Regions from separate parts of the Homo sapiens genome. Here regions 1, 2 and 4 are each linked to region 3. Evidence: promoter capture Hi-C in human tissues and cell types (Jung and others, 2019). All regions are on one chromosome and are shown on one strand. The core of a region is centred on a gene start or on the middle of the fragment in contact, and the rest is flanking DNA. Distances in the headings are between cores, read along the strand shown.

Evidence for each region. The method cuts DNA at HindIII sites, captures the fragments that hold promoters and counts their contacts. A contact is called where the count stands out against the background at its distance.
Region 1: the fragment with the promoter of ARF4 here is called in contact with the fragment with the promoter of FLNB in region 3 in 1 of the 25 tissues and cell types used here (heart right ventricle).
Region 2: a fragment that was not itself captured here is called in contact with the fragment with the promoter of FLNB in region 3 in 1 of the 25 tissues and cell types used here (dorsolateral prefrontal cortex).
Region 4: a contact is called between a fragment that was not itself captured here and the fragment with the promoter of FLNB in region 3, in 1 of the 25 tissues and cell types used here (hippocampus).

The regions. Positions count from the first base shown.
Region 1 is chr3:57,596,072-57,599,061 of GRCh38, forward strand. ARF4 (ARF GTPase 4) reads right to left here and starts at 1,273. Exons shown (of 6, transcript NM_001660.4): 1 at 1,003-1,273. The coding sequence starts at 1,069. ARF4-AS1 (ARF4 antisense RNA 1) reads left to right here and starts at 1,718. Exons shown (of 2, transcript NR_132370.1): 1 at 1,718-1,980. It also overlaps a transcript of PDE12 not described here. RefSeq lists enhancers at 677-726, 747-896, 810-2,009, 885-1,590, 927-976 and 4 more. The HindIII fragment of the contact is 4,316 bases long and covers 1-2,990 here.
Region 2 is chr3:57,561,715-57,564,996 of GRCh38, forward strand. PDE12 (phosphodiesterase 12) reads left to right here. Exons shown (of 3, transcript NM_177966.7): 3 at 1-3,282. Among named protein-coding and RNA genes, the nearest start is that of PDE12, 7.1 kb to the left of the region's middle. The HindIII fragment of the contact is 8,870 bases long and covers 1-3,282 here.
Region 3 is chr3:58,006,761-58,009,793 of GRCh38, forward strand. FLNB (filamin B) reads left to right here and starts at 1,662. Exons shown (of 46, transcript NM_001457.4): 1 at 1,662-2,096. The coding sequence starts at 1,805. The HindIII fragment of the contact is 12,217 bases long and covers 1-3,033 here.
Region 4 is chr3:58,493,957-58,497,407 of GRCh38, forward strand. All of the region lies in intron 1 of KCTD6 (potassium channel tetramerization domain containing 6), which reads left to right. Among named protein-coding and RNA genes, the nearest start is that of KCTD6, 3.6 kb to the left of the region's middle. The HindIII fragment of the contact is 5,212 bases long and covers 1-3,451 here.

The DNA of each region.
Region 1 (2,990 bases), core at 23-2,522, 410 kb before region 3:
GCTCAGCTGTGATGTAGACTGCTTACAGTAACCGGGAGCGGTTGCTTACTTCAGCCAACTGACAGCCCTTCTCCCTCAGCTGAGCAAAAACACGCCCCCTAAAAAGTAGTTTTTAAAAAGTCAACTTTCTAAAAAGAAATTTTAAAAAAATTGTAGTTACTATTTAACAAGACTACCATAAAATTCAGCGTCATGATGTTCAGTTACTTGAAAATTTATCAGGTATTTTTTAAAAATTCGTTTCTAAAATTTTTTTGCATTAGACCTTAGACCGCCTAAAAATAAGCTTAAAAACCTAGGAGAATAAACCAAACACATTTAAAGTTTTTGAAAATAGTCAAAGAAATAGAAGATAAGCTCAGTTTTCGGAGAATGAGATTAACAAGGAGCGAAAAACTTGAAACGGAATCCAGCGCAAGGCCAAGTTTAGCAAAGTGAGCGCTGAAGGACTCCAGACTCTTCGGAAACCTTGGGTGCTCCCTGGCCACCGCAACTTCCTGCCCCGGGCGGCTCCAGGCTCCGGGTGGCCGCTGGCTTACATACCAATGGAGTATGCAGGGACTGTACACGAAACGCAGAAGGGGAGGGAAAAGGCTGGAGTTGCTCTGCCTCCCTCCTGACCGCTGTCCACACCCGGGCAAGAAGGTATGCAGATCGCACCCCCAGAAAGGGCCTCGCCAAGTGTTTGCTTCCCAGAGTTGGCTTTCCCCACATCTCTGCCCAATGTTGTCCAGCTTTCAATAAGATCAAGGAGAAAAAGCCGAGTCCAGAAAGAAATCTTGCCCGAAGCCCTGTCCCTGTCTCGTCTGGCGACAGATCGGGGGCGGGGGGGATCGCTCACCCTCCGCTCCATTGTTCCCCCTTAAGAATTCCTTCCGACCCCCGACCCGGCGCCCCTCCCCCACCACAGCGGGCGGAGGAAAAAAACAGGCCCAGAGGCCACCCCAATTGTGGAGACCCTGCCTTTCCCAGGTCCCGCCTGACTCGCAGCCCCTCACTCACCCATCAAAATGCGCATCTGCTTCTTGCCAAATAGTCGGGAGAAGAGGGAGGAGATAGTGAGGCCCATGGCGGTAGTGGCACTTGTGATGGGCAGAAGCAGAAGGGGTTTGGGGCGACCCCGTGCTTTCTCCTTTCAAGCTCCCAGGCAAACTAAACGAGAGGGAAGAGAAAGAGCGGAGGAAGAAAGAGGGAGGCAGAAACGTCTCAGTGGCCCCTGTGCCGATGAAGATCCGGCACAGGAATAAGCCGGTAGAGGACCTGCTAGGCGACTGGCGCGGCAGCTCCGGCTCTAGCCTTTAGGCTCTGGCTGTGCCACGTCACGCGGCGGCCGCGGCGACTCCAGCAGCGGCCCGGCCCCTCCAACGCGGACAGAATCGCGTCACCGCCGCCCCATCCCCCTGCGCTTCCGGTGCGCCCGAGCCACTGCGCTTGCGCCTGCAGGGGATTGGCCAGTTTCGCTGACGAGCATCTCTCGACGGCGCCACCGCCCGGACGTGGCCCCAGGAGCCGGGAGAGGCCGGCTGAGGCACATGCGTACTGGGAGACGGACAAAGTCCCACAATACCTCGCTTCGTCACTGCCAAATCAGACTCAGGGTGAGACGCTTCCGCCCGGATGAAGGTATTGTCGGGGTGATAGTCCTTGCTTCCGGAAAGGCGAGCTGAGCATTATGGGTTAGGTGAGGAACCTCGCCCTCTTCTATTACGGTACGCGCGATGGGTATTCCCTGATGCCATGAACTTACACGTTTCACACACGGGACCAGACGCTTGCTTTAGTTGACGCATGAAGACCGGTCCGGTCTTTTGCGGAGAAAAGTGGTTAAAAGCTGACTTGTGGGCCGAGAAACTGTGGCACCCTAATGAGCTAGGGCTAGACGCTTCGACCACCACGCCAAGTGATTCTGAAGATCTCTAATTCTGTCAAGGCGAGAGCGCTCCAACACGTGTTCATCGGCTGTTGCTTTTTAAAGAGAAGGCAAGGAGGAAGTCTTGCTTTTCTTGTACTTTTTTTCCTAGAAGCAGCATTAAAGATTTACTCCTTATGTTGAGGAAGCGGAAAGCCTCTTCACTTTAAAAGTGTTTATGATCGGGCCTGGCGCGGTGACTCACCGCGCCCGGCCTGCTACACCTTTTAAAATTCACAGCAATGATAAATGTATTAGACTCATTGCCAGGATAAAGATTTAATCTATTTTTCTAGTAGTGCCGTCCTATGTGGTTCTGTAGTTGCTTATTCCAACTGGTATATTTCCATAGGATGGGGTTGAATAAGAAAAACTTGCAAACTTTCAGAAACAGTAAGTTATTTTTATATTTTTGAAGGCTTGCTGAGTAACGCTTCTCTTGGTAGCACTACCTTATCTACCCTTCAGAGACTGTTATTTCTTAGGAGTGGCCCTGGGCAATTAAAAGCAAAAACTTCTGGCCGGGCATAGTGGCTCATGCCTGTAATCCCAGCACTTTGGGAGGCCGAGGCGGGCAGATTACGAGGTCAGGAGATCGAGACCATCCTGGCTAACACGGTGAAACCCAGTCTCTACTAAAAATAGAATAAATTAACCGGGCGTGGTGGCGGGTGCCTATACTCCCAGCTACTCCGGAGGCTGAGGCAGAAGAATGGCGTGAACCCGGGAGGCGGAGGTTGCAGTGAGCGGAGATCGCGCCCCTGCACTCCAGCCTGGGCGACAGAGCGAGACTGTCTTAAAAAAACAAACAACAACAACAAAAAAACCCCAAAAACTTCTTTACTCAGAAGTACCCTCCTTTGCATTGGAGATACATGTAAAGAGTTGCTTAGCAGTTGAATAACTCAAAATTGCATTTTGGAAGCTTGCTAAGTGACAAGACCTTCTTGTATCCTTTTGTGAACCCCCAAAATATGAGACAGGCCTCAGTTAATTTAGAAAGTTAATTTTGCCAAAGTTGAGGACACGCGTCCATGACATAGCCTCAGGAGGTCTTGTAGACATGTGCCCAAGGTGATCA
Region 2 (3,282 bases), core at 70-2,569, 450 kb before region 3:
AATTCTTTAATCTCTGAACCTAGTATCATAAGAATTTCCTCTTTTGATAACATCTGTACTTTCATATTCTGCTCACTATCAAATGTATTGTTAACACTTAGTAAGTTTGAAAATGAAGGGGTTTTATCTGCATTTGACATTGAACCTTGAAGTACTTTAAGTACTCCAAGGGGAAAATTAAAGTGGAAGTTTCTTCGGATCTTGTTTAGAAAAAACTATAAATAAAAAATTGATGCTACCAAATTGTGCCTTCCTAAATAACATTTTTGAGAGCATTTTAACAGCAGTTTACAAATATGTAAATAATAGATTAAAACCAAATCTTGATTCTCTTGTGAATTTTTTTTTCATTTTAAAAATATGTTTTTGGGCTGTTTTCAAAGAAAGATGTTGATAGAACCCTTAGAGTGACTTGGGAGAAAACAAAGTGTCACATCAAAAAGTTGAGAAACATTTTGAAAGAAAAAATTCGAACATGCCCATGAAAAAAGCATACAGCTTCCACATTAACACTGGCTAGATTAAACTCTAGTCAGAAAAACTCAGCACTTAACAGACATTCCATGTCCTATATCCTTAATTTTGATGTTTTCTGACTAAACAATATACTCAGATTGTATACAGGCATTTCACATTATTAGGACATGGAATGTTATTGTGAAGTGCCATATACTGTGATCAAATCTCCAGTATACGGATACGTTAAAATGATTGGAGTCCAAAGGTAGGGAACACTAAGAAAATGTATAAATAGCATACACATTTCTTTGTACTCATGAGTTAGAATGCAGTGTTATTCAGAAATGTCTGTTTAAAGCACCTATGTGATTGCATTTTTCTATTACATTTGGATTTTTTAGTACATTTAATTTTAAGAAAACATGGGAAATCTAGCGACTTTCTATGGTAAACCACATTTTATAATGTCACAAGTTCTTGCTATAGGAATTAACATTCTAGAATTTTATATTGATTATAAAAGAGTATTTCAGAACATATTATTCTGTTAAAATGAACTCTTGCACAGTTGCCGCTACAGCAAATGTGTCTGCCAATAATCAAAATTCATGAGCAAACAATCGTTTCTGGCTGTAATGTATGTTCTTTTTGAAATTCTGTATGCTAAAATCAGTTGTTTCAAAATTTCAAGAATTCCACTGAGTAGTGATTTTTCTGAGTACTAAGCTATGATCTCATCAGAATGTGCTGGTTTCAGTCTGGAGATAGATTTCTGAGGAGCCTAATACAAGGGAGAGAATGTCCAAAGAACACTACTGTGGAAAGTTCTTACGATGGAAATTGACATCTTTTGTATCTCATTCTCCAGCCGTGAAATAAAGGCAGAGGTTCCCTGCAAACTAGTTTGGTTGGGATAAATCCAATATTTATATATAATGAAAAATAAAAGTTTGCATTATTAGTTTATCACAAGACCCATGTGACAACTCAGAAAATATTCTCAGCATAATTTTTTTAAGAGATAGAGTCTCACTGTTACCCAGGCTGGAGTGCAGTGGTGCAGTCATAACTTACTACAGCCTCAAACTGCGGGGCTCAAATGATCCTCCTGCCTCAGCGTCCCAAGTAGTTGAGATTACAAGCCCAACCTTCCATAACTGAAAACTAACTTTCTTTTTTTCTTTTTTTATTATTATACTTTAAGTTCTAGTGTACATGTGCCCAACGTGCAGATTTGTTACATAGGTATACATGTGCCATGTTGGTTTGCTGCACCCGTTAACTCGTCATTTACATTAGGTATTTCTCCTAATGCTATCCCTCCCCCAGCCCTGAAAATGAATTTTTTAAACACAAATAAAAAATATTTCAGTGTTTTGAGAATTTTAATAATTTGCTTAATATAGTACAGGAAGGCAACACTATCTAGAGGGCCAGGCATAGTGGCTCTTGACTGTAATCACAACATTTTGGGAGGCTGAGGCAGGAGGATCACTTGAGCTGAGGAGTTCAAGACCAGCCTTGGCAACATTGTGAGACCCTATCTCTGCAAAAAATAAAATTAACCAGGCATGGTGGTGCATGCCTGTAGTCCCAGCTGCTCAGGAGGCTGAGGCCAGAGGATCACTTGAGCCCATGAGGTCAAGCCTGCAGTGAGTTGTGATCAAGGTGCGCTGCACTCCAGCCTGGGTAATAGAGCAAGACCCTGTCTTCAAAAAACCACTCTAGATTTCATGTTGTAGGGGGTAGGGAGGACAATTTTTAACAGCTTTAACTGACATGGGTAATATATAAGTTCTGTGTTCTCACTTTATATGAAAGTACTTTTTTAAATGTTAAAAATACTAGAGCTGTATTAACTTCGTGATTTTATTTTTCTTCTTAGCACTAACTTCAAAATAACCATACAGTACTGCTTGTAATTTTTGTATTTTTAGTAGAGACAGGGTTTCACCATATTGGCCAGGCTGGTCTTGAACTCCTGAACTCAAGTGATCTGCCTGCCTCAGCCTCTGAAAGTGCTGGGATTACAGGCATGAGCCACGGTACCCGGCCTAAATTTTAATTTTATATATAAATGGCAAAATAATCTTAAATATAGTAAATCTGTTCACCTATCTGCTATGCTAGCAAATTCTGGGTTGTCAAAAATCCATGTTCATACTGTCAGTGTTAGATTTTTACTCATAATTTAAAATTTCCCCGCAAAATTTCACAGAAAACTGAATTATTCATCTCTATCTTCTGTCCAATTTATGTAATGAATGTATGTCAAAGCATTTATATAACACAGTCCATTTTGCCCAGTAATTCACTTTAATGATGTTATCATGAAGTATTGATGTACTTTTTTTTTAGTGTATTGAAGTATTCCTAGGTTGCATTTGTGCTAGTTTCATACCATTTGTGTTCCTTATATATTGAAGATGGTTCAGTAGGGGAAATGGATAGGCTTTATTTAGTTGGCTTTCTTATACTGGATAATATAAACACTTTTTTTTTCTTTTTTGAGACAGGGTCTGGCTTTGTCACCCAGGCTTGGAGGGCACTGGTGCCATCACGGCTTACTGCAACCTCCACCTCCTGGGCTTATGCAATCCTCCCACCACAGCCTCCCCAAATAGCTGGGACTACAGGTGCGCACCGCCACACCTGGCTAATTTTTGTATATTTTATAGGCAAAAAAAAAAAAAAAAATGGTTTCACCATGTTGCCCAGGCTGGTCTTGAAATTCTCAGTTCAAGCAGTCCACCCACCTCGGCCTCCCAAAGTGCTGATATTACAGACATGAGCCACCCCACCCAGTCAGCACACATTTTTTTT
Region 3 (3,033 bases), core at 412-2,911:
CAAACAGGATTAGGGTTCTTAATCGGCTGATTTTAAAATAGGGAGATCATGTTGGACTAACCAGCTGGCCCAATGTCATCTTAAGAGTCCTTAAAAGGGCCAGGTGTGGGGAGGTTGAAGCTGCAGGGAGCCGAGATTGAGTCATAGCACTCCAGTTTGGGAGACGGAGTGAGACAAAAAAAAGGCTGGGCAAGGTGGCTCATGCCTGTAATCCCATCACTTTGGGAGGCAGAGGCTGGTGGATCGCTTGAGGTCAGGAGTTCAAGACCAGCCTGGCCAACATGGTGAAAGCCCGTCTCTATTAAAAATACAAAAATTAGCGGAGCGTGGTGGCGGGTGCCTGTAATCCCAGCCACTCAGGAGGTTGAGGCAAGAGAATTGCTTGAACCCAGGAGGAGGAGGTTGCAGTGAGCCGAGATTGCACCACTGGACTCTAGCCTGGGCAACGGAGTAAGACTCCATCGCAGGAAAAAAAAAAAAAAGGAAGATGTGCCTATGGAGAGAGGACTGTCTGAGGTCTGAGAGACTCCACCTGACATTGCAGGCTTGCTTTTCTGTTTTTTTTTTTTTTTTTTTTTTTTTTGAGACGGAGTTTTGCTCTGTCGCCCAGGCTGGAGTGCAATGGCACCATCTCAGCTCACTGTAACCTCTGCCTCCCAGGTTCAAGCGATTCTCCTATCTCAGCCTTCCCAGTAGCTGGGATTACAGGTACGCGCCACCACACCTGGCTAATTTTTGTATTTTAAGTAGAGATGGGGTTTTACCATGTTGGCCAGGCTGGTCTCGAACTCCTGACCTCAGGTGATCCACCCACCTTGGCCTCCCAAAGTGCTGGGATTACAGGTGTGAGCCATTGTGCCCAGCCCATTGCAGGCTTTCACAGAGAAAAGGGGCAGGAGTCAGGCGCGCAGGCAGCTTCTGGAAGTTAGAAAACACAAGGAAACAGATTCTTCCCTACAGCCTCCAGAAGGGAATGCATCCTGCCAACACTTTGTTTTTAGCTCAGCAAGACCTGTGTGGGCCATCGAACCTACAGAACTGAAGGATAATACATTTGTGGGTGTGTGTTTTCAAAGACACTAAGTTTTGGTAACTTGTTACAGCAGTAACTGGAAACTAAGACATGCAACAAGCCTTATTGTTCATTTTTACCACCACTACTGGGCTGTTGGTTATGGTGGAATTACACTTTTCTCTTCCATTAGGCTGTGTGAACTCCTTGAGGTTGTGCAATACGTTTGTCTGATTTACTACTGGTTAGCAGGCTCTGAGAAGAATGGCTGGTACACAGGCGGAGCTCAATAAAAGCCCTTACTGAATTTTATTCAATCTATATGTGGATGAAGACCTCCGCCCCGCGCGCCCCTCCCGCAAGTCCCACTGAGGCCCGACCCATTCTGTCCGGCTCCCAGCCCCCGCGGGTCCCCCCACCCCGGGGCTGACCGGGTGATTCAGGCAGCCCTACATCCTGCTGGGGTGGTGGGCTTCGAGCGCGGGTCCCAGGACGCAGTGGGGCGCAGTGCCTGCGGCAGGCGGCAGGAGGCGAGCGTGGCCCAGGAACTCCCGCGGGAGGGTCGGGACGGGGCGGGGCTTGGGGGCGGGGCGGCTCAGCGCGCAGGCGCGGGGCCAGGCGCCTCGCGCGGCCAGGGGCGGGCGGCCGCAGAGCAGCACCGGCCGTGGCTCCGGTAGCAGCAAGTTCGAACCCCGCTCCCGCTCCGCTTCGGTTCTCGCTCCTTCGGCCCTTGGGCCTCCAAACACCAGTCCCCGGCAGCTCGTTGCGCATTGCGCTCTCCCCGCCACCAGGATGCCGGTAACCGAGAAGGATCTAGCTGAGGACGCGCCTTGGAAGAAGATCCAGCAGAACACGTTCACACGCTGGTGCAACGAGCACCTCAAGTGCGTGAACAAACGCATCGGCAACCTGCAGACCGACCTGAGCGACGGGCTGCGGCTCATCGCGCTGCTCGAGGTGCTCAGCCAGAAGCGCATGTACCGCAAGTACCATCAGCGGCCCACCTTTCGCCAGATGCAGCTCGAGAATGTGTCCGTGGCGCTCGAGTTCCTGGACCGTGAGAGCATCAAGCTCGTGTCCATCGGTGAGTTCTCTGGCCGGGCCCAGGCGCCCACTGTGGTGCCGACCCGCCCCCGCGCGTGCACCCCTGCGGAGGGCGAGGATTTCCCGCAGCGCGCCCCCACCTCGGAGATAAGGGGGAGTCGTCCCCAGGGGTGGGTTATAGGGGGCCTAGACCCCCTCCCCGGTGTCTTCCCCTGGGATGGGACCTGTTGTGATCGCTCCCCGCCATCCGCCCCAGCAGTGCACCTTTGGCTGGCTAAGGGTTGAGGGTTTGGGCTGGGGTCACAGGAGGAGAGGTGGAGTTGTTGCATTTCTCTACACCTGGGGCGCCCCTATGGGAGCTAGGGGACTAGAAACCCTCGTTCGCTGTCCCCGGGGGCGGGCCCTAGGGTCAGATGCTCCGCGGAGTGCTCTCCCTGCTGCGCCCAGGTTGGTGCTCTCAGAGGCAGCTGAATGGGCGTTGGCTCGGAGGCCGGGCCGTGAGACCTGAGGAGGAACCGTTCTCTGCGCCTGGGGCCTCCCTGCCCAGGTGGAGACAGAGACCTGGTACCTTCCCCTGCCGTCGCTGGAATGGGTGTGGGCCCCGAGGTTGCAAGGGTAGGCGCGGGTGTGTGTCCTCGCTCTCTCTGCTCCCAGCTCAGCTCTGGCCGCGCGCCGCAGGTTGAACCCACTCCTTGCTGCCGAAGTTATAATTTAGAGATGGTGGTGGTAACAGTAATTGCTGTCTTGTAGGGAGCCCAACTAGCGTCCACTGTGTACCGTCAGCCTTCTAAGTTATCTCCGTCCCTACGCATCCTGCCATCTGGGGTGAGGCTAGACCCATTTTACAGATAAGGGGGTCCGGAGGGTTAATTGACCTGTCCAAGGTCAGCAAGTAGGGCCCAGCTGAGAACTGAAGGAAGTGGGCAACAGTTAGAAGGAGGCTTTGTTTTCCTCTCCTCTCCCAAACCTACACCAGG
Region 4 (3,451 bases), core at 267-2,766, 490 kb after region 3:
ATGTGTTACTCTTATAGGCCAATTTTTGCCTTTGTGTTGTGCCTAAATGGTGTAATTACCCCGTTTTGGGAAGGTGGTATTATCCCGTTTTATCTTGCGGAAACTGAGGGTTAAGAGGAATGTTATGATTTTGTGACTATTTGTGACAGCTTTTTAATATTAGGTCACTTTTAAACCTATAGCTTCTCTCTTCTAGACCACATGGTTGAGAAAGGAGAAAGAGAAAATGATTACTTGTAGAGAAAAATCCATTTCTGCAGTGGTATGGTTAAGGATAATCTAACCATAATCACATTATCCTTGTATGCCTGGCTACTTATGCTGGCCTGTATGTGAATGTTAACCCCAAAGACTCCTTTAGATGTCGCTGAACTAGTTACTATAAAAAGTATTTCGCTTTCAAACTCCCACATTTCAAGAAGAGCAAAACTCAATACAAGGCAATTTTGAAGGTAAGTATAGAAAGAGGGAGTTTATTGAGTCTTTTCTGACTACCAGACACGAAGGTTTCAGTAAAAAAGCATTTTTAAAGGGCTGCCTGGAAACTCTGGGAAGTCAGTAGTTGGAGTTTTTTATTATTCGTTGGAGGTTTTTATTGCAACATATAGGTAGTTATATAGGATTAGGACTTTTGCCCCGGAGAATTCTTAATCTATAGCAGGAATGATAAACCCAGAATATTTTTGTTAAGTTAGTTCATCATAACCATTAGGCCTGTAATTGCAATTCTGCAGTGATAGGGAGAATGGCATTTAAGGGTTCTTAGGTTATTTTTTTAAGTTATTAACTTACTGAATTATGTATGCATTTCTTCAGATATGCTACTTTAGAAAATTAATACTTCCTTTTAAGGTTTCTATAAATTCTTCAGTATGTGTTTTCTTAAGCTTAATTACCTGCTAACATGACACTGTCAGAATTTATACATTAGTCACAATAACCTTTGAAGCTTAAACATGGTTGAATTTTCAGCACTGCTTTATATTCTTTGGGGAGTGGGCAGTGTTGTTTTCACAAGAATTTTATTTGCATCAAAGGTTACATCTTTTCAGGTGAACTGATTTTTCAGGGTCAGAGGCTTCTTTGAATTTTATAGCTGTTTGTGCTCGGTTGCATTTGCTGTCTTTCAAAACCATCTTTAGTTTTAGTAAGGAAAGTCACTATAAAGGAAAAATTTTTTATTGTTACCATTCCTGGTAGATTTTCTGAAATATTAGATATTTCTTTGCTTTCATCAAGTAAAATAGGCCTATTTGATACCCATTTCAAGATCTTCCTTCTGCTGCCTGTCTTGTGGTCATTTAACTTCTCATTAAGCCCTCCACTGGAGACTGTGCCAGAAGGGAGAGAAGATGAAAAGCAAATGAATCATTTTCTAATTGTTAGTAGCTCTGGAAAATGATTCAGTAGAAGAGATTGAAACTATTCTGGAAATTCTTTGGGATTGTATTTCATTCATCTGCATCGTTTCAGAGATGTTCCTAATGGTCGTCAATTCAGAATTCAGAAGCCGATCATTATCCAGCTATTGGATAACAGGGAATTTTTCATGCTTTTTTTTTGTTTGTTTGTTTCTTGCTGTATTTAAGCATCTCCACAGAAGATATTTAGAAGCAGGTAGAGATAAAATTTAAACTAATCAATACTGTTTTTTCCCTTTGAACTCTTTAATGCACAATTTGATTTCTTTAGACAGTTTACTCATTGTTATTGGAAGTGACTAATAGTAACTTTGCTTCAATTTATTTTGATGTATCTTATACACAAGTATAGGAAGGCTTTTGGGTGGTTTTTAAGAAACATGGGCTGTAGATTCCCATAATTGCTTTCCTGAATTATTAAGCGTGAGCTTTCATTACATCTTTGTACCGGAACTTTTGCTTTTGCTGTGGAACAGATTCAGGGACATCGTCTAATTTTTTTTTTTTTTTTTTTAGATAACTGCTCAAGAAGTTACCTTGTTTTGATTTAGCAGTAAAAAAGAAAAAAAGGGTTAATAGTGGACAGACTTTTCGTTAACGGCTGCAACATTGATGTCTGCTTTTTTCCTTGTCTTTGATCTTCTGTTTCTCATTTAATCATTTGGATATTCACGGATTGGAGTTCTTTATGTCACTACAGACAGGACAGCAACCGTTATTCACACTAGTTGAATGGGTTCCTGCCTTTTTTTGGTGGGGGGGCCTCAGGAGAATTTTTACAAACCCATTATGACTGTTTAGTTAGGCTGAGTTACTGTAAAATTTGTAAATAAAACCCTACTGGATGGATAGGGTTAATAGATGGCTATAGAGAGTTTAAAGTTAAGCTTTTTCAATTTCTTGTCTCTTGGATTCTGTTCTTTCAATTTCTACCCTAGGAGGGGATTTATGGAAAAATCTAGACTAAGAGTCAGAACATGCAAGTTCTTATCTAGTTACTTCCCAGCTGTGGCGCCCTCAGCTAGTCACTTAATCTGCCTTGTTTCTCTGTTTTGCATCTTTAAGATGAGGATAGTAATCCCTGCTCGGCCTACTGGTATCAGGAATGTTGTAGGGGGAAAAAAAGTCTTTCATGCCCCTGTCTATTAAATTGTTTCTTCCTTCTAGAATCCCTTCTCAGGTTGTCCGAATTTTCTTTCAAGGATTCAACTGAATGGGCTCTTCCCAGAAGTCCTCTATTTCCCATTTGAAATCTTGCTTTTCCCCTCTCACGGGCCTCTGCTGGTCCATCTGTTATACAGCACTTTGAATTCTGTTCTGTACTTCAGTCATTGCATGTTGCCTTCCATTATAGATGGAAAGCTCCATGAGGGCAAAGATTGTCTTTTTCCTCTTTCTGTGTGTCCGCATTGCACATAGGCACCCCCTCCACTCCATAGGTGACCCACAATAATTGTTGGCTGAATGAATGATTATTGAGGCTGTCAGAATGAATACTTTGGGTGATGGGAAAATGCCAAAGATGAGCATCTTACCAGAACTTTTGGATGAGTGGCCTTTTAAATTGCTCAGTTACTAATCTGTTGTTATCAGTAACTGAATCAGATCCTGGCAAGACAAATTGGCAAAGCCCATTTCTTGGTCCTGTTTACTTCGGATACTATTTGTGAAGCAAGTCAGAGGAATGAAAGACTGTCATAACAGTCTTGAATTTGACATTTGTTCCATTTCTCACCCCATAGCATGTGGAGGCCTGTCTATATCCAACTGCTGAGTGTAAAGAATAAAAACTGACTGCCCCATAGTCTGGTCCACATTTTAGTTGTGTGCTTTGAAGGATTTGCAAGGTAGAGAAATAGATGCTTCAGGCTCTGATTTCAGCCCATGCTGTGCTATGCAAATGTTCTCTACATGCCTGAGTGACCTTTTGAGAAAGAGCCTTTGTGATCTTCTGTAGCTAGGGCTTGTTCTGGGAATTCTGTGCCAGATTCCTCTAAAAGTGGGAAAAGTGAATCTGTTAAAGGACCACG